2 separate regions of the Homo sapiens genome follow, and region 2 is linked to region 1. The links are contacts of gene promoters, found by promoter capture Hi-C in human tissues and cell types (Jung and others, 2019). All regions are on one chromosome and are shown on one strand. The core of a region is centred on a gene start or on the middle of the fragment in contact, and the rest is flanking DNA. Distances in the headings are between cores, read along the strand shown.

Region 1 (7,237 bases), core at 2,840-5,339:
GGAGGAATGTGCCCTGCGGTCCCGGAGACAGGTCAGAAGCCCAGAGGGGAAGGAGGTCCTAGAGGGAAGGGCCCTGGGGATGAGAGAGTGCCGAGGTTTCTTGGGAGTCTCCTAAGAATAAGCGGAAAGGCTGATGAAGCCAGGAGGGAGAGGAAAGTGAGGCAGTGTTGTGATTGTGGTTGTTTTTAAGCATGTTCTTACCCCCCACCTGCATTTTGTGGTCAGGACTCTAGTTTCAAGATTCACTAAATGGGGATATGAAGGAGAAACCCTGCCCTTTCATAAGGAGGGGACCTGGGTGGTATGGGTGAGAGGAGTGAGGTTGGGGAGAGCCTAAATCAAGAATTTCTTAGATTGTGGGTCTCAATAGTAGGTTGTGAAATCAATTCAGTATGGGCCATGGGGATAAAAATATATACAGATCTATATATAGCAATGCATTGCAAATAGAAAAGGTAAGTATTATTCCAGTAGGTATAAACTGAGACATCACAAGGAAAAATGTTTTCCTTCCAGTGGCTGATGGTGAAAAAAATTTGAAAGCCCCATCCTGAGGAGTTAAGGAGTAGGAAGTCCCAGGTCCTTCCTTTTCCTTCCAGGGCACTGACCCTATCAGCCAGACGAAGGTGGCAGAGCTGCTTGGGGAGAGTGATGGTAGAAGGACCTCCCAGGAGGGCCCTGGAGACAGTGTGAAATTCGAGGGAGGTGAAGATGCTTCTGTGGCTGTGGAGTGGTCCGGGGTAAGTCTGATCATTGCCTTTTCATCTCTCCTGCCCACTCCTGCTGGTGGTGGTGAGAGGCTCTTGGCCATGCTGTCCCAGTCTAGGTAGTGTATTCCTTCAGGGGTATCTCTGGGAGCCAGTTTTTGACAGGACTTTTATTTCCAGTCACTGGGCCTTGGGGGTGGGGGATGTGTGCAGAATAAATGCTAGGAGTAGACTCAGAAACCCATCTGTGTGGGATCCTTGTAGCTTTCATTGCTCACTCCTTTCTGCCAGGATGGCAGTGGGACCCTGCAGAGGAGTGGCTCTCTTGGCAAGATCCGGGATGTGCTCCGCAGAAGCAGTGAACTCTTGGTGAGGAAGCTCCAGGGGACTGAGCCTCGGCCCTCCAGGTATACATGGAAGTCAAGATACAGTAAAGTGGCCGGGTGCAGTGGCTCACGCCTGTAATCCCAGCACTTTGGGAGGCCGAGGCGGGTGGATCACCTGAGGTCAGGAGTTTGAGACCAGCCTGGCCAACAAGGTGAAACTCTCTCCTAAAAATACAAAAATTAGTCGGGTGTGGTGGCAGGTGCCTGTAATCTCAGCTACTTGGGAGGCTGAGGCAGGAGAATTGCTGGAACCCAGGAGGCAGAGGTTGCAGGGAGCCAAGATCATGCCATTGCACTCCAGCCCAGGCGACAACAGCGAGACTCCGTCTCAAAAAAAAAAAGAAAAAAAAAAAAGATATGGTAAAGCAGGCAAGTAAAGTAAGCCCTTGCCTCCAACTCCTCTTGGCTCCTGATCTCTGGAGAAGTATCTCGGAGAGAAACAGGGAGGAAGTCAACGGGCCAGCCATGGAGAGAGAGTTTGGGTAGAATGGGTGCCCCAGTGTGGCAGTGCTCAAGAGGCCCACAGCCTTAAGGCCACTCAGGAGGAAGAGAGGAGGCCTCAATTCTTCCGTTTTCCATTGTAGCAGCAACATGAAGCGAGCAGCCTCCTTGAACTATCTGAACCAACCTAGTGCAGCACCCCTCCAGGTGAGAGCAGTGCTTGTGAGCATATTGGTGGGTGAGGAAAAAAGGACAGCCAGTGAGCAAGCCCAGTGGAGTAAGGGAAGAGGGAAGGGAGAGGAGTCATCTGGGATGAAGATGAGCCAGGGGATTGCAGTCATTAAGGAATCAGGCAGATAGCTTGTGGTGAGTGCTGACCACCAAGGGACAGTTTCAGGCCAGACATAGTAGCAAATAAGTTAATAAGGAGGGAAATAGGAATATTCTGTAAACTGGTACTTTGGAATTATGAATAATTTAAGAATTATTTGGAGATACGAATTATTTTTTCATCCTGCAGCCGCCTTAGTAGTAGATGAGAATGGAAAAAGAAAAGTATTAAATAATCCCCATCTGAGAAAACACTAGTGATATTTTAATGGCAAATGACTTCTTGTATCAACACACAAGTATATGCCAGTATTCATGTGGTTCTTCCAGGTAGCTTCTCCACCAGATTGTGGCCTTCTGGAAAACCCTAGCAGAGGCTAAACAAAGTCCCAGGTCCAGAGATAGACTGGTCCAGAGACAGATGTGATCCTAGGTCCAGAGATACACTGTGACCATGGGATGGATGGACTCTAGGAGCCAGTCTTTGGGAGGCCGAGGTCCCTGAGCTGATGGGGTAGTGTTGTCTGTTTCAGGTCTCCCGGGGCCTCAGTGCCAGCACCATGGACCTCTCTTCAAGCAGCTGACATTCAACCCGGCCCCCAGGTCTGCTGGGTCCCCCCACCCCCACAGCCCTCACAGCATTCCCCATTGCTCCTGGCTCTTCCCCACCCCTAGGTGGGACAGTGAAGGGGAGCAGTTTAACCAGAAGATTGCTGCTGCCCTTAGGGTCTCAGCTCCCTCCTCAGGAATCCCTCTTAGGAAGGACCCTCAGGACACCCTCTCTGCACCCTGTGGTCCTCTAGAGTAGCTAGCTCTGAGGCCCCAAGGTGGGTACAAAGCAGGTATGGCCCTCAGAGATGCAGCCTGCTGCTGGCTTTTCAGTCAGAGGGTTGGGGGCTGGCCAGCCAAGCTGCCTTGCCCTGGCCGCTCTTACTCCCTCCCTCTGCTGTCTCACTTCAGGTCCATGTATTTCACTTTTCTTAAATAAAAGAATCAGGTAACCTTTCTGTGACTTGAGTCCTGATTGAAGAGGGTATGAAGCAGGGCTTGTGTTGGGGCCCTTCACAGAAGGTGAGGGGCAGTGATGGATGGAGCAGCAGGAGGAGTGTTGATTCTTGGATCTCTCCTCTCTTCCTCCCGTTGTTTGTATCATCTCCAGCAGGGCCTGTAGGAAGGCATCTGGGGGATGGGGAAGAAGGAGGCTCACAACCCAAGGAGAAGGTGCTGTGGACTGGGTTGTCAGGGACATGTGGTGGCCATGTGGCAGGACCCTGGAGTCCTGGCGCCACTTCTCCTGGCTGTGAGGCCCTCTGTGGCTGCCATTCCTCCTCCCAGCTGCTTGGGGGAAGGGAGGTCTAAACAGGCCTGGGGGGCCCTCCGGAACCAGAGGGGAGACAAGGCACTATCCATCCCCTCTCAGCATATCTTGGAGGCCTGAGCAGCAGCTGGGGCCCATCTTCTAAAGCTTGACTCCTCCTGACCCGCCTCCTACACCCCTTGCTGCTTTCACAACAAAGAAAGAATGTGGGGGTGGTGGCGCTGGGGGTGGGGGTGCCTGGAACAAGGGTTGTGCTGGGCCTCCCCACAGCTGGAGACTTGGCCATACCCTGACACAGCCCAGACTGCCTGGAGATGGACTTGGGATGAATTTGTCAGTTAGCAGACTTCAGCCTGGCTTTCAGAGCCCAGCGTGTTTCTACCTTTGGGTTCAGATTGGTCTACAGCCAAACCAGACCCCAGTCATGCACACTTCAGCCCCTCTCCGGGCTACACAGCATCTTCAGGTTACTTGGGGACATTAAGGACACCCTGCTGTTCTGGGTCTGCCGTTAAGATTTTGGGTTGCTGAAGAGTTGGCGGGGCCCGCCTCTTCCCCTGCCCCCACCTGGAGAATTCTGGGGGAACTGTTGGCCAGAGCCTCCAGGTATGCCCAGAATGGACCATTCTCCCCAGGGTCCACGGAATCGCACAAGTCACTTAGGTTCTCCCGGATCCCTGCAGAGTCGGTGGTGGGTACAGCAAATACTCAGGTCCCCTGCACTTCCCTGAGCCTTGCTCTCTCTATTCTCCATCCCTCTCCAGACCCCTCCCCCTACTGAGCTCCTCCCCGCCTCGGCGAGGAGGGGGCGTCGAGGGGGCGGGGCGCCGTGCGGGGGCCGGAGGGGAGGGGGCGTCGTGGGGCGGGGCTTGGCGGCGGCGGCGGCGGCGCGCGGGGACTCGGAGGTACTGGGCGCGCGCGGCTCCGGCTCGGGACGCCTCGGGACGCCTCGGGGTCGGGCTCCGGCTGCGGCTGCTGCTGCGGCGCCCGCGCTCCGGTGCGCTCCGCCTCCTGTGCCCGCCGCGGAGCGCAGTCTGCGCGCCCGCCGTGCGCCCTCAGCTCCTTTTCCTGAGCCCGCCGCGATGGGAGCTGCGCGGGGATCCCCGGCCAGACCCCGCCGGTTGCCTCTGCTCAGCGTCCTGCTGCTGCCGCTGCTGGGCGGTGAGTACCCGAGAGTTGGGGGCACAGAGCTTGGGAAGCGCGGGAGTCCCGTGGGCAAAAGGCTGCGCCCGGGGCGGTGGGTTTGGGCGGCTGGAACGGCCCTGGAGTAGTGGAGAGGCTCGCTGGGGGTGCAGGCTTGCGGCGGAAGGGCGCAAGGAGCCCGGGTGTCGGGAGGCTGGCGAAGCCTCCAGGGACGCGGTCAGGGTACCCCTCCCACTCGCGCCGCGGGGACGCATTTCCAGCCTCCCTGAGTTTTTCTGGTCTGAGCCGAGAGTTTGCTCGAGAACTGCCGAGAGTTGCTGGCTCTCGGGCCCAGATGGGGAGTTTCTTGTCGGGGGAGAAAAGACCATCCGCACCCACCGTGGGGAGCGCGATGGAGAAAAAGGAATTCCCCACCCCACCCGGCAGGGTCGGCCCAGGTAAGAGTTGCTGGTTTGGGGCCCGATGCCGGACAGACCTGCGGCGCGCAAAGCGCGGAGCTTTGTTACCTACGCCGACCCGACGTTCCCGGCTTCCCTCCTCCGAGTTCCTGGGCAAAGCTGAGACCCCAGATGGCCCTGCGGGTGAGGGCGGAAGAAGGGAAGAGTTAGGGGCCGCCCCCATCCATGGCCTCTAGCTACTGGTCTGGAACCCTGCGCCCACTCCGTGCCAGGGCCGAATCCGGGGATCCGAGGGTCCCAGGCTGTCGCGGTGACTAATGTGTGAAGGCCGCTGCCAAAATCGGGCATGGCCTGGCTGCAAAGGTGCGGACGGGGTTTGTTCTGCTCCTTCCTGGATTTCCATCCTGACTGTCCTCACAGAGGAAAGGAAGTATTTCTAAGGGAAGAAAGGCAAAAAGAGCTCATTCTGGCTTTTCTTGGGGGGGGGCCTTAGCATTTTAACGAGGGTGTGGCCCTCATCACCAGGGCAGACAGCACCGCCCCCCCAACTCCCGCAGCTTTTATTTCCTGGCTTGGTCACACCTAAGAGTCATCACTGAGGTGTTGAAGTGCCTTACAGGAAAGCACCAAGCCACCCGCACATCCCAAATAGCCCGGACTGGAAATAAAGCCCCCGACCCTCCACAACACTCCTTGGTGGTCCTCGAAGCAGCTTTCTCTTGGGGAGCTCTGTCGAGGAGACCTGTCCTAGGTGATCACCTTCCATCTCCTTTGAAGGTGGCAATGGGAAGGGCATGGGTAAGGAATTGCCTTTCTAATATCTTTCTGGCCTGCCAGCTGTGGAGGGGTTTTGGTGCTGGTGGAATCAACATCTCCCCTGCCCCCAGTTGTAAAAGGAGAGGTAAATGTAACCCAGGAAAGAGACCAATCTCCAGGGATTTGGAGGAGGTGTTTCTGGAGTTGCCCCGTTTTTCTTGTGATGTGTGTGGTGGTTATTGCTCGTGGCAGAATCCACATCTGCTCCCAGAGGAAGTATGGAAGTTTTTTTGCACAGCCAGGATGGGGGCCCAGCCATCTGGGCGAGCAGCCCAAGCTCACAGGCCCCCTGGCTGTCCTGGTTGGGTTTTGGTGTGTGGGTCTGCCCAATGAGGCTGCCTTCACTGCTGCTGTTCAGGGTACTAGAGTCAAGGGGAGTTTCTGGTGAAGATGGGGCTCTTGCTCAACAAATGCTGAATTCCTAAATTCCTTCCATGAGAAGATGACTCTGATGTTAATTGACTTAATCTGGTGACTGGTTGGTGTTTAGTGTGTGTGCGCGCGTGTGTGTGGGGGATCCTGTTGGGGGAAGTTAGGGCAGGCTGAGGGCTTAGGACAGGAGGTCTGTAGTCTCCTCAGGGGTGGGGGGATGTCTTGTGCTCAACAAAGGAACATTTTAATGAGAGCCTTAAATCAATTCCACCAAATGTGCCTTGTTGTGGAACCTGTCCATGTGCTGTAAACAATTTCAGTGGAGGCCGAGGCGCCTGCTGTCTTCTAGTGAAATCCTGGGACTCAACCCACCCCCAGACGCATGACTTCAGGGGCAACGGTTTTTTAATAGATCACAGTAGATGTTTGCATCTCATTGTTTAATTGTGTAATTAACTGGAGTTGTAGTGAGATCCCACTGTTAATAAGGCTGGAGTAAGGAACCTAGGCTGGCTAGGTTTGTGGATTAGACCATTTTAAAGTCTGGGTAATTATGCCATAAATGGCAGAGTTACTTTCCAAACTTTGAGATGCTGTTGTAATAAATATGGTGGAGGAGGAGGAGGCTTGATGTTTGAAACTATGGATTCTTAACCCCAACCTCTTGTACAGTCAGCTGTGGTCACTTCTCATTCCAATTCCCATCCCCCTCCCTGGTTTCTTTCCTCCGGGCTCTTGTTTCTTTGGGGAAATTGAGTCGTCATGTTCTGGGATAGGCTGTCTGCAGATTCCTCAAGGCTCTGCAGCCTGTAATTCAGGCCTAGGAGTTGCTTTTATTAGTGATGGCTTTTCTCAGCTGTTGGGAAGTATGGTGGCAGGGCAAGGGTGCTCTTCTTGTCACTTGTCAAATGATATACTCAAACTCCTGGTGTTCAGAGCAGCATTGAGTGGTGGACAGAGCTCAAGCAATGGAGATAAAGTATGGTCCTTCCTTGGCATCTGCAGGGAATTGGAATAGGACTCCCTGAGAATAACAAAATCCAAGGGTGCGGCCAGGCCTGGTGGCTCACGCCTGTAATCCCAGCACTTTGGGAGGCCGAGGCGGGCGGATCATGAGGTCAGGAGATTGAGACCATCCTGGCTAACACGGTGAAACCCTGTCTCTACTAAAAATACAAAAAATTAGCCAGGCGTGGTGGCGGGTGCCCGTAGTCCCAGCTACTCGGGAGGCTGAGACAGGAGAATGGCCTGAACCCGGGAGGTGGAGCTTGCAGTGATCGTGCCACTGCACTCCAGCTTGGGCGAGATCGTGCCGAGATCGTGCCA
Region 2 (7,237 bases), core at 1,242-3,741, 180 kb before region 1:
GAAGTATGTAGAGGTGAAGTGTCATGATGACAGAAAGAAAGCAAATGTGGCAAAATTGCTAAGAATTAGTGAATCCACGTGAGGGTTTGAAACTTGTCAAAATAAAAAGTTGGGGTAGGCCCGGTGCAGTGGCTCACGCCTATAATCCCAGCACTTTGGGAGTGGTCAAGGCAGGAGGATCACTTGAACCCAGGAGTTCAAGACTAACCTGGGCAACATAGTGAGACCCCCTCCAAAAACAAAAATTGGCTGGATGTGGTGGCACACACCAGTAGTTCCAGCTACTTGGAAGGCTGAGGCTGGAGTATCACTTGAGCTCAGGAGGTTGAGGCTGCAGTGAGCCAAGATTGTTCCACTGCACTCTAGCCTGAGCAACAGAGACTCTGTTAAAAAAAAAAAAATTGGGGTAGGGGGCACTTGGTAAGAGCTTGAGAAGCCAGTCTGGAGGAAACTGACCATATTGAATGTTGTATAATAAAGAATTTTGAAGGGGTGGCCTGCCCCTCCACACCTGCGGGTATTTCTCGTCAGGTGGGACGAGGGACTAAAAAAAGAAATAAGACACAGAGACAAAGTATAGAGAAAGAACACTGGGCCCAGGAGACCAGCGCTCAGCGTACGGAGGACCTGCACTGGCCCCAGTCTCTGAGTTCCCTCAGCATTTACTGATTATTATTTTCACTGTCTCAGCAAGGGGAATGCAGCAGGAGAACAGGGTGATAGCGGGGAGAAGGTCAGCAAGAAAACATGTGAGCAAAGGAATCTGTGTCACAAATAAGTTCAAGGGAAGGTACTATGCCTGGATGTGCACATAGGCCAGATATATGCTTCTCTCCACCCAAACATCTCAGTGTAGTAAAGAATAACACAGCAGTATTGCCACCAGCATATCTCGCCTCCAGCCACAGGGCGGTTTTCTCCTATCTCAGAATAGAACGAATGTACAATCGGGTATTATACTGAGACATTCCGTTCTCAGGGGCATGCAGGAGACAGAGGCCTTCCTCTTATCTCAACCGCAAGAGGCCTTCCTCTTTTACTAATCCTCCTCAGCACAGACCCTTCACGGGTGTCGGGCTGGGGGATGGTCAGGTCTTTCCCGTCCCACGAGGCCATACCTCAGGCTGTCTCAGTGGGGAGAAACCTTGGACAATACCTGGCTTTCCTGGGCAGAGGTCCCTGTGGCTTTCTGCAGTGCATTGTGCCCCTGGTTAATCGAGAATGGAGAATGGCGATGACTTTTACCAAGCATACTGCCTGTAAACATTTTGTTAACAAGGCACATCCTGCACAGCCCTAGATCCCTTAAACCTTGATTCCATACAACACATATTTCCGTGAGCACAAGGTTGGGGCTAAAGTTACATATTAACAGCATCTCAAGGCAAAACAATTGTTCAGGGTACAGATCAAAATGGAGTTTCTTATGTCTTCCTTTTCTATGTAGACACAGTAACAGTCGGATCTCTCTTTTCCCTACATATCCCCCTTTTTGACAAAACTGCCATCGTCGTTATGGCCCGTTCTTGCTGGTCGCTGTCTCTTCGGAGCTGGTGGATACACCTGTGGACTAACAACAGACAGAACAGGCATACAAGGATTAATATGAAATTTACAATAGTGGAACTTCTGATGGTTTTTAACCAAGTGACAGTGTTAAGATTTGTGAGGCCATCAGTAGCTTTCACGATTGCCTCAGTTCCCAAATTTAAATGGGCTTTCGATGCCTCAAAATTTTGTTATTTTAATTTTGAAATATCTAAAGTAAGATTATCTTCTCTTCCCTGTAGATGGCATCTAACCATGTCCCAGTGATGCTCAGACTCATTATAGGCTTGGGGTGTAATACAAAAATCTGACATATTCCAGTCACACTGTAACTGAAAAAGATATTCCAAGCTCATGAGCCTATTTCCCAGCCAAATGACAGTTTGTCTAAGATCATTAATTTCGTTTGCCAATTTTTGATTTATTTGGGTCTGAGAATTCCACAATTTTGAGGAATTCTTTCGCCAATCATTTACATATTCTGCAGTTTGAACAGAGGAGTGTAAAGCAATTCCAGCAGCTGCAGCAGTAGCTGTGACTGCAATAAGGCCCATAATCACTGCAATCAAAGTAAAAATCTTTTGGATCTAGTTAGAATTCCTTTTAATACTTCCGTTAAAATATGGAAGATGGCGAAGCCTCCCACTGTCGGTCCATGGACACAGGGATCCGCACACCTTCTCTTGCCCTCACTAGCAGAATATGGCGCTGCCAATTAAAAGTCAAATCAATGCAAGTAAACAATCTACAGTTTTCACAGGTTATAGTTTGGGAATCTGGTTTAATAACTATGTTTTCTATAACTAGCATATAAGGGGGTTTTACACAACTTTGTAAAGGAATTGTCAGATTGGAATTTAGGTTGATAGTATAATATGGCTTACGATTTCTTGTTTCTGTAGCTTGATTTCCAGACCAAATTCTAATGTAGTGCGAGGCCACAGTAAGCTTCCATAATTTTGGATGTTTAGGACCAGTAACAGGACTAACTAACTTTGGTCGAGGTGATGAAATTCCCTTTTCACCCCATTTCCAGGGATAGGGTGATTCTAGCCTTCTATAAACCTGGTCCAGCCTTTCAATTAAATCACTATCATAGGCCGGATTAATGGGCCAGATGGATGGGGCCTGTAAACATGAGTGAGTCTGGCCCATACAATTATATATAATATAATTGTATATAATATAATATAATATATAACTATTATATAATATTATAGTAGTTCCAAATTCATTGTTTTGTAATACCACCGCAGTATTAGCCACACATTCTTCCCAAACTAAGGCTTCTGGGCTTTTTGATTCTTTGGGAATTTCCTTGGGGCAAGGCTTCCCCTTAGGCCCAGATTTTAATGATCTTTGATAAGAAGCGTCCTCTAAATTATTTATCTGTGGCCCGAGTGACATTCCACTTACCATGTGATAAGTAAATTTACTGGTGGCACTGACGGTAGGTACTTCTACCAACCAGTTTTGGGTTGTAGGCATTAAACATCCTGGTGCCTTCCCTAGGCAAATAGGAGGATAATGATACCCAGTGGAAACATTTATCATCATTCCTTCTTCTTTAGGTTGGGCAGGGCAACAATCGTCTGTGGGGCCTGGTACCCATGCCCTATTATTAACATATACTTCAACAGGATTATCCATCCATGTGACTGCCCAAATTAAGGGTGGGAAAGGCACATAGGCACAGTAAGTATAATTAGTTGCAGCTGCTCCTGCAGACATGGGGAGACTTACTACCGTTGATATAATAATCAAAGCTGTAAGCAGTATATTCTCTGGAGTTCACATTACCCTTGTGTTCTTTAGGCTTTTTTTAGCTAACTGTGTCAGCTTCTTTAATTGGGCCCAAGTCGGTGGCTCCGCTTCCTTGGTGGATGGCAACTTCATCTGTTCTTCTGATATCACCATTTTATTTACCTGGCGAGTCGATGATGCTCAATTGAGGGTTTTTTGTCTCCGCAGAGGCGCTTTTCTTCGCATCTCCAAGGGGTTCATTGTAGAACTTTAAATTTCTAGTGGGTATCCAACCAGGAAGCTGATTTTCTCCTTGTGAAACACAAGCAAAGCCTCTCTCCCATGTTATCACCTTCCCTATTTCCCATGTCTTATTTTTCTTGTCTTTCCACCAAATCAGTTTTCCTTCATGTGGGCTATTCTTTTTACCAGTAAAATGTTGTTCTGCAGAAGTAGTGGTTTGATTTCTATAAATGTTTAAAAAATTTAAAGTATAGAGTGCTAGATTAAGTTGCATCTGGGGAGTGTTATACTCCTTACTGTCTTTTTTCCTTTTTTTGTTTAACCAATTGAGCTTTGAGTGTTCTATCAGTTTTTTCAATTATGGCCTGTCCTTGGGAATTATAAGGGATTCCTGTTGTATGTGTAATTTTCCACTGATTTAAGAATTTTTGAAATGTTTTACTACAGTATCCTGGCCCATTATCCGTTTTAATTTTTTCTGGAACTCCCATGACAGCAAAACAAGATAATAAATGTCTTTTAACATGGGAAGTATTTTCTCCTGTCTGGCAGTTTGCCCTTACAAAATGTGAATAAGCATCAACTGTCACATGGAGAAATGACAATTTTCCAACTGAAGGTACATGTGTGACATCCATTTGCCATAACGCATTAGGACACAGACCTCTGGGATTAACTCCTGCCTCCTGAGTGGGCAGGTGTGGAATCTGACACTGGGTGTAATGTTGTACAATATTTTTTGCCTGTTTCCATGTGATGTCAAATTTATTTTTTAGTCCTGTTGCATTTACATGAGTCAAGGCATGAAGTTCTTGTGCTTCCAGGAATGCAGATGATACTAGCAAGTCAACTTGTTCATTTGCTTTAGTTAAAGGCTCTGGTAAATTAGTATGTGCTCGAATATGAGTAACATAAAATGGGAAATTTCTTTTTCTTACAGTTTGTTGTAACATATTAAACAGCTGGTTTAACTGATCATCTATACTATATTTGATTAGGGCTGTCTCAACATCCTTTGTAGCCTGTACTACATATGCAGAATCTGATACAATGTTAATAGGCTGATTAAAATCTTGTAACACTGTAATGACAGCAACCAACTCTGCTCTTTGAGCCCAGTGATATTGAGTTTCAATGAGTCGTTCTTTTGGCCTGGTGTAAGCCGCTTTTCCATTGCTGGAACCATCAGTAAACACTGTCAGAGCATTTTCTAAAGGTTTATGTCTAGTAATTTTAGGTAAAATCCAAGTAGTCAATTTTAAAAACTGGAAGATTTTTGTTTTTGGGTAATGATTGTCAATAATTCCCACAAAATCAGCAAGACCAATCTGCCATGCACCAGAATTGATAAAGGCTTGTCTAACCTGTTCCTTGTTTAAAGGAACAATGATTTTATCTGAGTCACTTTCACACAATTTTATTATTCGTAATCTTGCCTGACCAATTAATGTAGCCATTTGATCCAAGTACAATGTAAAAGTCTTAATTGTACTATGAGGAAGGAAGAACCACTCCACAAGATCTGTATTTTGAGCAATAATGCCTGTTGGAGAATGTGCAGTAGCAAAAATCAAAAGTTGGAGTGGGGCTAAGTGATCTATTCTATTTACTTGTGCTGACCGAATTTTTTCTTCAACTAATTCAATTTCTTTAGTTGCTTCTGGAGTTAATGTTCTTTTACTATTCAATTCTGGATCCCCTCTTAAGATAGAGAACAAATTTGACATGGCATAAGTAGAGATGCCTAGAGTTGGCTGAATCCAATTAATATCTCCTAGCAATTTTTGAAAGTCATTTAATGTTTTTAATGTGTCTTTTCTTATTTCTATTTTTTATGGTTTAATTTTCGTTTCCTCCACCTGCATTTCCAAGTAATGGAAAGGAGTAGAGGTTTGAATCTTATCAGATGCTGTCGTCAGTCCTGCGTTTGCAACCTCTGTCTGCAGAAATGTGTAACAGTCAATTAATTTGTCTCTCCTTTCTGTAGCACACAAAATATCATCAACATAATGAATGATATAAGAGTCTGAAAACTGTCTCTAATTGGTTGAAGAGCTTGAGCTACAAAAGTCTGGCAAATAGTTGGACCATTAAGCATTCCCTGAGGCAACACTTTCCACTGAAACCTGGTGGCTGGTTCTTTATTATTTATGGCTGGTATAGTAAAAGCAAATTTTTCAAAATCCTGTTTTGCCAGAGGAACGGTAAAAAAGCAATCCTTCAGATCAATTATAACTAAAGGCCGATCTTTGGGGATCATGACCGGAGAGAGCAACCCAGGTTGGAGAGCCCCCATGGGTTGAATTACAGCATTAACGGCTCTTAAGTCGGTCAGCACGCGCCATCTGCCGGATTTTTTCTGAATTACAAACACAGGAGAATTCCAAGGCGAAAATGAAGGCTCAATATGTCCCTTTTCTAATTGTTCCTTTGCTAATAAGTGTAAAGCCTCCAGCTTTTGTTTTGGTAGCAGCCACTGATTCACCCATACAGGTTTTTTTGTTTTCCAAGTTAATGGAATGGGTTTTGGAGGCTCTACAGTGGCCGCTCTTAAAAAGGATACCCTATTCCTTTTCTTTTTTGAGTTTTTTCAGCCTCAATTGGGACTTTAATGCTGTCTTCATTCTTTCCTAGTCCCTTTTCAGGGAGATATCCCATTTTAGTTATGATTTTTTGACTCGTGGGGCTGTATTGGGGGCTGGGATAGTAATCGCTGCATGCCATTGTTGTAACAAGTCTCGGCCCCATAAATTAATTGGAATAGAAGTGATCATAGGCTGAACTGTACTTTCTTGATCATCAGGTCCTAGACAATGTAAACTCATGGCACTTTGATACACTTCTGAGGCAGTGCCTACGCCGACAAGTCCTGTAACAGGCTTTTGTTTAGGCCAATTTTGGGGCCATTGATTTAAGGCAATGATAGCACCATCACCCAGTATCCACTAATCCTTCAAACTGCTTTCCCTGAATAGTGACTGCACACACGGGTCTATCCTCTGAGACCTGACTAGCCCAATAAGCGGCTTTTCCGGCAGGGTTGGTACTTCCAAACCCTCCTGTTCTTTCCGTTTTGTTTTTCCCAATTTTAATACAAGGCAAAAGCAGTAATTGTGCAATTCTATCACCTGGATTGGCACTCCAGGGAACAGTGGAGCTGATCACTAACTGAATTTCCCCTTTATAATCTGAATCAATTACACCAGTATGAATTTGGACTCCCTTCAAATTTAGACTTGATCTCCCTAAAATAAGGCCTACCGTCCCTTCTGGCAGCGGGCCATATACCCCTGTAGGAATCTTTTGCGGGGGCTCTCCAGGGAGTAAAGAAACCATTTGAGTAGAACACAAATCTACTGCTGCGCTGCCTGCTGTGGCAGGGGACAGCTGTTGTATTGTTGTAATTGGCTGACTCCCTGAAGTGGTGGTATTTCCTGCGGGAGTTTTTGTCCCTGAAAACCCTGAGGAACAAACGGCTGAATCGGAATGCCCCAATTTGTTGCGGGGCCTGAGGCTGGCCCCTCTTCCCATTTCCCCAACAATGGTTGCCCATCTTTATCAAATTTAGAATGACATTGATTAGCCCAATGTTTTCCTTTTCCACATTTTGGACACAGGCCAGGTGGCTCTTTATTTTTTGCCGTTATAGCTTGATTTATTTATATTTATATTTTTCTTTTTTTTGAGACGGAGTCTGGCTCTG

Evidence for each region. Contacts are between HindIII fragments. The study calls those that stand out against the background at their distance.
Region 2: a contact is called between a fragment that was not itself captured here and the fragment with the promoter of PTK7 in region 1, in 1 of the 25 tissues and cell types used here (hippocampus).

The regions. Positions count from the first base shown.
Region 1 is chr6:43,072,225-43,079,461 of GRCh38, forward strand. PTK7 (protein tyrosine kinase 7 (inactive)) reads left to right here and starts at 4,090. Exons shown (of 20, transcript NM_002821.5): 1 at 4,090-4,343. The coding sequence starts at 4,265. KLC4 (kinesin light chain 4) reads left to right here. Exons shown (of 16, transcript NM_201521.3): 12 at 1-31; 13 at 600-740; 14 at 999-1,114; 15 at 1,678-1,741; 16 at 2,398-2,869. The coding sequence ends at 2,448. KLC4-AS1 (KLC4 antisense RNA 1) reads right to left here and starts at 4,006. Exons shown (of 2, transcript XR_002956347.1): 1 at 3,471-4,006; 2 at 2,109-3,043. RefSeq lists an enhancer at 3,225-3,748 and a silencer at 4,078-4,177. The HindIII fragment of the contact is 20,814 bases long and covers 1-7,237 here.
Region 2 is chr6:42,893,186-42,900,422 of GRCh38, forward strand. No RefSeq gene overlaps it. Among named protein-coding and RNA genes, the nearest start is that of PEX39, 6.0 kb to the left of the region's middle. The HindIII fragment of the contact is 6,847 bases long and covers 1-5,915 here.